Regions from separate parts of the Homo sapiens genome. Here region 1 is linked to region 2. Evidence: promoter capture Hi-C in 16 types of primary human blood cells and fetal thymus (Javierre and others, 2016). All regions are on one chromosome and are shown on one strand. The core of a region is centred on a gene start or on the middle of the fragment in contact, and the rest is flanking DNA. Distances in the headings are between cores, read along the strand shown.

What was found. Contacts are between HindIII fragments. The CHiCAGO score rates a contact against its expected background, and 5 or more counts as called.
Region 1: a fragment that was not itself captured here is called in contact with the fragment with the promoter of BMP15 in region 2 in 1 of 17 cell types (M1 macrophages); the score reaches 5.2 in M1 macrophages.

Annotation. Positions count from the first base shown.
Region 1 is chrX:50,674,335-50,679,385 of GRCh38, forward strand. The region is part of intron 2 of SHROOM4 (shroom family member 4); the gene reads right to left. Among named protein-coding and RNA genes, the nearest start is that of SHROOM4, 140 kb to the right of the region's middle. The HindIII fragment of the contact is 8,824 bases long and covers 1-5,051 here.
Region 2 is chrX:50,907,295-50,912,135 of GRCh38, forward strand. BMP15 (bone morphogenetic protein 15) reads left to right here and starts at 3,441. Exons shown (of 2, transcript NM_005448.2): 1 at 3,441-3,817. The coding sequence starts at 3,490. The HindIII fragment of the contact is 1,193 bases long and covers 2,768-3,960 here.

The sequences.
Region 1 (5,051 bases), core at 725-3,224, 230 kb before region 2:
ATAGCAGTCAAGACTGTATGGTATTGGTAGAGGGTCAGACACATATATCAATGGAATCGAATAGAAAACACAGAAATAGGCCCACACAAATATGCCAAACTTATTTTTGACAAAGTTGCAAAAGCAATTCAATGGAAAAAAAGATAGCCTTTTCAACATATGGTGCTGTAACAATGAGACAACAACAGGCCTAAAAACAAACCTCGACCTAAGTCTGATACTTAAACATGCACACAAAACCTCAGAATGGATCATAGACTTAATGTAGAGGTAATGTAAATGTAAAACTATAAATATTTTAGAAAAAAATAGGAGAAAAAATTTGGGATCTAGGACATTGAAAATAGTTTTTAGACTTGACACCAAAAGTATATATTAATTCATCAAAGGAAAAACCGATAAATTGGATTTGAGTTACATCATTCATTCCTTCATTAATTGTTAACATAGACTATCATGTTGTGGATACTGAGACTTTACAGATAATTAAAATGCAGCCCCTGTCTTCAAGGAAATCATAGTTTAGTAGAGAAAAGCAATATCTAAACTAACAGTTATGATGAGATGTGGTTAAGTGCACAGAGGACGGAGCTCTCCTGTAGGGATGAGGAACAGTTTGTAATACATAGCAGAAACCTTTAACAATGAGCAGAGACTTAGCAGGTAAAGGAGTGGGACACTATTCTAAGCAAAGAGAACAGTATCTGCAAAGGCAGAGACATGAGAGGACACTGTATTCAGGGAACGGTTAATATGTTCAAGGAGGCTAAATGTATGAGATTTGTCCATACGTTGTCATCATTTAGAGAGGGGAACAACACACACTGGGGCCTTTTGGAAGGTGGAGGGTGGGAGGAGGGAGAGATCAACAAAAATAACTAATGAGTACTAGGCTTAATATCTAGGTGATGAAATAATCTGTATAACAAACCCCCATGACACAAGTTTACCTATTAACTCTTTACCTATGTAACAAACCTTCACTTGTACCCCTGAACTTACAATAAAAGTTTTGAAAAATGAGATTTGAATGAATACATATCTGAGGTAGAACCAACAGGATTTGGTAACTGATTTGATAAAGGTGAAGTGGGTAGCTGAGAGAAGAGGGGATCAAGATGCTTCTTGAATTCCTACTTTAAAGGACTAGGACCATTAAATGTGATCAGGAACAGGAAAGGAGGAGAGGGCATTCTTGTTTCTGGATGGGGGGAAAGTATTAAAACATATTGAGTTTGAGGTACCTGTGTTTCTTGGCAAAAATGTCCTCCAGACAACTGGAAATATGAAGTTAGTATTGAGAAAATAGTTCTGGACTAGAGATGTAAATGTGTGAGGCATCAGTATTCAAATAGTTGATGCTATAGTAGTAAATTATGTTACATACTGAAAGGGCACACTGAGAAGCTGGGTGTCTGAGAGACAAAAAAAAATTGATAGAGCAAAGTCCAATGTTCCTTTTTGACTATTTGCCATTCGGTCTTCACAAAACTAGTTTAGATTCCCCTCAATGCATTAACATTTAGAGAACTCTGGCTTGAATAAGACAAAGAGATGAAAAGGCTGCCATTTCTCAGCCATTGCTGCCAACTCCCTTCTCTTCTATCTCCACATAGCATCTCTGGGGAGGTAAGGATCTGCTGAAGTCAGTAAAGAAAATTCCATAGCTTTCTTTGGTGATTTATTACTGACTGCAGAAAGTGATTTAGTTCTCTAGAAGACCTAGCTAAAATCCTTCCTGCTACAAATGATACTGTTTCTTCATGTGCTGTCTTAATGGAAAAAGAAGACAGTTAGATACCCTATTGTGTGTATCATGGAATTATGTTTTCCAGTCTGGACAGCATGGGGAAGTAGATTTTTCAAGACAAATAAAGTGGCTGATGGGAGGCCCTAGGGTTGACAGGGAAAAAGATGTGGATAAGATTATGGGATTCAATTCCTGGTATTCTAGAAAAGTAGTTTTTTTTTTTTCTAGTCCTTGAAAGCAGTTATTAAATCACTTCTTCTTGTCTTACAAAACAAATATATGAAGAATCAAATACACAGCTTATTTATTTTGCAAGGCAAAACTCCCCTATGGACATTAAATTGGCTGTGAAATGAGTTAAGTCGGCAATTTTGCTTTGGTTTTGTTTTGTTTTTGTGTTTGAAACCATCCATGGCAAGTGGCTATTTCTAAGGGCTTGAAAATTTTATCTTCTCTGGGTTGAATAATCTTGATTCTTTCACAAAGCCTTCACTTGAATGACTTTTCTATCCATTAATTATTTTATATCACTTCCTTGATTGCTCACCAAATTCTTTGTACCCATCTTTAGCTATTATGATAGGATCACTTTAACTCTCTGATCAAAAACTGCGTTTAAATATTGTTCAAAACATTCTGTTCTGTGCAAGGGATATAAGCCCTTGAAAAAAACATTTCAGAGAAAAAAAAAGTGTCAGGCCCTGTTGTTAAAGGAAGTGAGCTGTACCGGAATATTAATCAAGTCCAGTTATTGTATCCAAATTAAACTGGTGTCTCTTAATTCCAGCTTGAAAAGCAGCAAAGTGGAAGGAAGAAAAGTAATGCAAAGGATAAAAATAGAAAATATTTCCTGCTTAAAGAAAGAGAGAAACGGGATTTTTACATACATAGTGGCATCACTTCCTTAATGAAGCTATTCCCTTTTCTATAAATTCTGTCTGGTGTGGAAGGACAAAGAATGGTGGAAGGAAATCTGAAAGCAAAGATGTTGAACAGGTAAAGTTGGAGTTTCCCACTAGTTAGCTCCAATAGTCAAGGCTAGGGGAACATATCAATGGCCAACACAGTATGAATTATAGTTAATCCCTGAGAATGGCAGACTTGAGTATTTTGGATACTAAGGGAGGCCCAAGGATGAAAACATGCTTCTAGAGAACATTTTCATTTTATTTGAATTTAAATTAAGATTTGGGATGAGCTGATAAAAGGCAAAGTGAAGGAGTATCATACCTGGTAGTGCCTTAGCTGTTTATTGTTTTTAAAAATTGTTCTACAATTGCCAGTGGTTTTGGTTAATGTCAATCTAAGATATCTCAACACCGATATCTAGGATTTTTAATAGACAAAAGGCATAATTTTCTCTCTTCCTAATGTGGTAAAACATAAAGTTTGATTTGACTGGTGAGATTGAGTCTAGAAAAATAAAGGGGAAAAGACAGCTAATACTTCTAAAGATGCTAAATTCTAAGTATCTGCATGCTCTCATTTCATCCTCAGTAGAAATCAGTGAAAAAGAGGTGAGAAAATGGACCCAGAGATATTAAGGCAGACGTCCAACTTATCAGTCCACTGCTAATCTTATACTGGTGGTCCTAGGTGTTCTTCCCAAAGTGACATTCATGCATTCATTCATTGACTATTTGTTTATTCATCAAATACTGTATTCCAGGCTCTGAAGCCACGTCCTGGAGATTAATGGTGAAAAACACAAGGCCTAGCTTTATGGAAACTTATTGGTTCCTGACCAATTCTCCAAGTTTTAGGTAAGTCTGAGTTCTAAGTCAACCTATTGACTTCCCATTCTACATTCTGTTATCTGCCTAATCAGTGGGTATTCTTTTGGTTGTATGGCTGTGATCAACTCAAGTATGAGTCATTCAAAAGGGGAAAAACAAAATGACCAACCTATCTTTTCTCTGACACAATCAACCAAATTAGCGTAGGAAAAAGTTATTAAGTCACATCCATTCCATCCTGGGAACAGAGCAAAACCACTCCTTGTATTATGCTACATTATTTTTCAACAAAATTGTCCTGTATAATTGTAAATAATTATAAATGACTCAGTGGCAAAGTTTCCACCATTTCCTCTCAAAGGTTAGCCCACGCTCCAGTAATTTTTAGCATCAAGATGGTTTCTCTGATAGTCAGCCTAAACAGCCCTTGTCCTGATTTCATCTAATTAAGCTCTGATCTACCCTGATCTCATTCTATGCAATTCCTCTTTTGCTGCTGTATTTATATCCTTCAAATATAGCTATATGCCTATCATAACAAATTCTCTCCCCTCTCCACCATGGCTGACCTAATCTTAAGCTAAACTCAGCAGACAAAACTGCAACCCCACCATAACTTCTAGCCATCTCAGTATTTCCTACCCTATGCAGAAAACACCAACTAATTTCTTGCAGTTCTGAGGTCAGACCTTCCAGGTCTCTTCCTATACATTGGGCAGTGGGGCAGGTGTCCAGAGACCACAAATTGCATTTCAATGACATCCTGTCACCTCCACTCTTCTACTTCTCTAGGGTACAGAAGTACTTCCTCAGTGATTTTTTTCTAACCACATGTTTTGAGGGTCTGGCAGAACAGATCCAATTCAGAAGAACATCTTAGAAGATTTTGTTGAATCTATCTGGGTGCAGAACTTATTCCTTCACTCTCACACTCAACTTTTGTTGAAAACTAGCAGTGTCATACCCTAGTGAATCTGACATGTTCTCTCTCAAGGAATTCACAGTCTAATACAGGAGATAAATAGGTCCCTCTCCCCAATTTACCCCCTGCCACCCTCCTTTTCTAAAGAAAATACAATTCCTCATCTCCCATTCACTCTTCACTGAAATTGGGCCTCTGCTCATAATGTTTTAATAAAGCCTTTTCTGCCAAAGTCAACCAGTAACCTCTGAATTAGCAAACTCAATAGTCTTTTTTCAATATTCATCCAACTAAAATGCAAGAATATTCAGCACTATTGATTGTTGGACTGCTTTTTCTTGAAATCCTCTCCCTGTCCTTGGTTTCCATGACACCACTCTCCCACGTCTCCTCCTACATTTCTGAGTGCCCTTTCTTTCTCTCCTTTACACCACTTTCTCCCTTTCCTCTCAGCAGACAGCTTCTCCTTATAGTTGATTTAAAAAGATAAGCATTGAGAAAAGAACTTCCTCTTCTTTCCACCGCTGCATCACCAACCTACCTTGCCTTATCTCCTCTTAATATGGGTGAATTATCCTTATCCTTAACAAAGTTCAACTCCGCACTTCTGCTCTGATCTTCCCAAGGACCTTGCTGCTGCAAT
Region 2 (4,841 bases), core at 2,191-4,690:
TAAAAAGTGATCTCTCTTGAGGCTGCAGTGAGCTGTGAGCATGCCACTGCATTCCAGCTTGGGCAAAAGAGTGAGATTCTGGCTCAAAAAAGAAAAAAAAGCCATCTCTGGTAGTTCTCCTGTACGTTTCACCATGTACATTTCATCGTGTTTAGTGCAATACTGTAAACCATGAATAACACCGTGGGACTCACATGAAGTGCCACTACTGCTGCCAGAAGTGCTCCTAAAAAGCAAAGTCATGACATTCCAACAAAAAGTTGAATTGGTTAATATGTATCATAGATTGAGATCTGCAGCTGTGGTTACCTGCCATTTCAGACAGACGATGTAAAACTTAGAGTACTGATAAATACAGTACAATACTGTAAACGTATTTTATGTTTTTAAATCATTTTTTTGAGACAGGGTCCTACTCTATCACCCAGGCTGACTGGAGTTCAGTGACGCCTTTATGGCTCAAGCAATTCTCCCACCTCAGCCTTCTGAGTAGCTAGGACCACAGGTGCATGCACCATCTTGGCTAATTTTTGTATTTTTCATAAAGACGTTGTTTCAGCATGTTGCCCAGGCTGGTCTCGAATTCCTGGGCTCAAGCTATCCTCCCACCTCAGCCTTCTGAGTAGCTAGGACCACAGGTACATGCACCATCCTGGCTAATTTTTGTATTTTTCATAGAGACGTTGTTTCAGCATGTTGCCCAGGCTGGTCTGGAACTCCTGGGCTCAAGCAATCCTCCCTCCTTGGCCTCCCAAAGTGCTGGGATTACAGGTGTGAGCCACTGCCCCTGGCCTTAAAATCATTTTCTTTTCTGTGGCTTACTTCATTGTAGGAATACAGTATATAAAACATACGACATACAAAATATGTTAATTGATTGTTATCCATAAGACTTCTAGCCAACAGCGGACTATTAGTATAGTCATCCCTCCTCTCTGTATACATGACAGATTGATTCCAGGACCTCCTGCAGATACCAAAGTCTGCACATATTCAAGTCGCGTGCAGTCTATTTTTCAAAACCCACACATACAAAAAGTCAGTCCTCCATGTAAGCGGGTTTTGCATCCTGAGAATACTGTATTTTTGATCCATGTTTGGTGGGAAAAAAAAAACGTGTTTAAGTGGGCTCGTGAAGTTCAAACCCATGTTGTTCAAGGTTGACGTGTAGTTAAGTTTTTGGGGAGTCAAGTTATACCAAATTCTGACTGCATGGGAGATGGGGGGGCGAGTTAGCACCCCTAACCCCCATGTTGTTCAAGGGTCAACTGTATTGCCTCTTCCAATATGTTGTAAGAATAAGTATTGTTTCAGAAAAGATTTACTTCAAGGTATATATGCGTGTGTGCTTGTGTTTGTAATGGGTAGCAATGTAAAATGTATTCATTTTTGTAAGTCACAGACAAAAGTATCTAAAACTGCTACTGCTTTAGCAATAGCATTGCTGAATTGTATATCTTCAACCTTAACAGAGATAATGCCAGATTGCTCTCCAAAATTATTATACCAAATCACACTCTCAACAGCAGTGTGAGATGTTCCATATCTCTCTATATAGAATCTCTCTATATAGAATATCTATATAGATATTCTATATATTATACCTATGTTCCATATCCTCACCTGAACTTAATAGTGCCAGACTTTTAATGTGCTATCGATCCATTTAATGTGCTATCAATACTGGGTGTTGAATAGTATCTTAATGTTGTTTTCAGTTGCGTTTTTCTGATTTCCAGTACATCTTTTCATACATTTGACCATCTAAATTTTGCCTATTGTGAATCATCTGTTTATATCCCTTACTTGTATATTATACAATACAACCCTCACAACAGCTCTCTGAAGGAGCCAGCAGTATAGATGAAGAAACTAAGTCTGGGAGAAATGTTGCTTAAAGTAACCCAGCTAATGAGTTTTTGAGCTGAAATTTGAGTCCAGATGTAGAGGACCCGTAAACCTATGCCTTTTGTTTTACACTACATGCCAGGGCCCAAGGTCATGTTAGAAAAAAAAACAGAGGAAGAGCACAAATAAATTTGAACATGTAACCCTATGTCTTGTGTCTAATTAGGCTTTGTGCAATTAACATAGATTATTTCCTTGCTTCCTCACAACAACCTGTGAGGTAAAACGTGTTATCTCCATTCTACAGATGAGAAAACTAAGGTGTAGGGAAGTGAAGAAATTTGTCTTGGAAGGGTTAAATTACAGCTAGAAATTTGCCTTGGAAAGGTTAAATTACAGCTAGGGACAGAATTGCAACTCAAACACAGATCTGCCTGATTACCAAGTCCACGCCTGTTCCACAGTAATGTCTGTCCATAGATACTCCTGGTGTAAGGTAAAGGCCTCCCACAAATCAAGCCTGACTCATCATCTCCTAGAGCCAGGTCTTGACCTGCTTCCCCAGTTTCTCTCCAGATCCCCATATGTTTCTACTTCGGTACGGCCAGGACTATACCTACTATCTTTCTGCAGAATAATGGTCTGAGGCAGCCTTAAAACTGGCCGAGCCCTGCTGCTTCACATTAACCATCTGGGCTAGGTTAGCTCCCATAGATTACTCTTCCCCTTCCTCAGGCTTCTCTAATGAAGCCCAATAAGGATCTCAACACCTTCCAAGGTAAACCAGAAAATTATAAGTCAGAGTCCTTAAACGTGGCTGCACATTAAAATCACTTGTGAACTTAAAAAAATCCTGATGCACTAGTTACAACCCAGGCCCATTACATCAGAATGGTACCCAGGCATTCATAATAGTTAAAGCTTCCCAGATGATTCCAATCTACAGCCAAGATTGAGAACCACTGTTACGGCATCTTCTTCAAGCTCCAGCAGCCATACTCAGTAGTTTCCACATTTTAGGTTTTCATAGGAACTTCTTGGAGCACTGGTAAAGAGCCAGATTTCTGGACGCCATCCCAGAGAATCCTGGTTCAGACCCAGGAGTCTACATTCTTAATAATCACCCCAGATAGTTTCACTGCAGATTATTAGCAGACAATATTTTGAGAAATGCTGCATTAGAGGCATGGAAGTAGGATGGGAACAGGAGGCCTCTGGCCCTTTAAGGATGGATTAAGGGACTACTTTTAAGGCTGTAGGGGCAAGTAGGATCAGGCTGCTTTTTTTCATTCTAGTGGATAAGTTAAGGAAGTGGGTCCTGAAATGGACCTCTCCTTTTAAGTTACCTGAGCCTCTCAATAGGTACTATCTTGTTCTCAGCCCGGGAGAGCGGGAGGGGCATGCTGCCTTGTCCCACCTTCTGTTTCTGTTTCTTTTGATGCAAAGAGGCCAAGTTATGAGGCAACTTTGGTCCAGGAGATCCTCTTAGAGAAAGCAACATAGGGCCTGCCTGCCTTTCTTTTTCTTGCCCCATCCTTGGTTGTGGAGCCAGGATGCAGTTATCTGCATGAAAGGAAATGGTCAGAGTGACGTCCCTTGGGCTTGTGTTGGGGCCTGTTGTTGAACACTAAGCCTTTCAAGATGGTCCTCCTCAGTATTCTTAGAATTCTTTTTCTTTGTGAACTCGTGCTTTTCATGGAACACAGGGCCCAAATGGCAGAAGGAGGGCAGTCCTCTATTGCCCTTCTGGCTGAGGCCCCTACTTTGCCCCTGATTGAGGAGCTGCTAGAAGAATCCCCTGGCGAACAGCCAAGGAAGCCCCGGCTCCTAGGGCATTCACTGCGGTACATGCTGGAGTTGTACCGGCGTTCAGCTGACTCGCATGGGCACCCTAGAGAGAACCGCACCATTGGGGCCACCATGGTGAGGCTGGTGAAGCCCTTGACCAATGTGGCAAGGCCTCACAGAGGTGAGTTGTTATGCCCCCATACTGCCCTGGAAGGGAGAGAAGTGGAGAGGAGTGTAGAGAAAAGGGAATTGGTGGGTTTACTGTCAGGCTTTGTTGCCTTGTGGGCAGGTTGTTTCTTTAGGCTTGGTTTTCAAAGGATGGCAAGCTTTGGAGAAGCCAGCGCCAAGCCTACTTCCCTTTAGGGCATCAACTTAAGAACAGATTGCCTTGGTGCCTACTGAGAAATCTTTCCCAGGCCCCAGGACAACTGAGTGATGTGCCATCACCTATCTTTCACAGAAACTTTTATTGCTTGTGATAGTTCTGAAAACTGTAGAGACATATCCAGCTATATTCTTGTGGAGGGCTATTTAAGTGGCGTTTTGCTCTTAGAGTACAGCTTGCTGAGTTGGGGAAACTTATAAGGCCTCAGAAAGGACATAAATAAGCTTACATCTGAGGGTCTGTATACCTGGCTCTGTGAACATGTGCTACTGTATTTCTTAATGAAAGCTACTATCTTAACTGTCTTGATGCAATTAGCCTAATTTTAAAACTAAGGCACGGAGAGGTTAAGTAACTTGCAAATGGTACACAGATAGTGGGTCGCAGAGATGGGATTGCAGCTGAAGTCTGTCTGATTCTAAAGTCTGTCGGTAACTTCTTAAGTCTTTAAATGCAGTATTCCAATATCCTTGTACCCCCAATAGTTTTTCTACTTGGGCCATATTGCTACTTTGGGATTCTGGGACTAAGTGTATTTTGGAACTTTTTTTTGTCCCCATCATGCTTGATTTTGCTTTTAACATTTGCATCAGACATTGTTGCAGGACAACAGTGGGCTATTGAAGTGTAGGACTCTCTAGAGAATGCAGACAGTCATCAACTTCAAGGAATTCTTGGGAACCTAGTGAGATCAATCTGTAGCCTTCACTAGTCTGAGATGAAAAGGGACAGGACTTAATCCCCTCCCCAAGCAAAACAATAAATATTCTCGTACCTAACCCTTACTGTGAGATTACTGTGTGCCAGGCATTGCACAAAA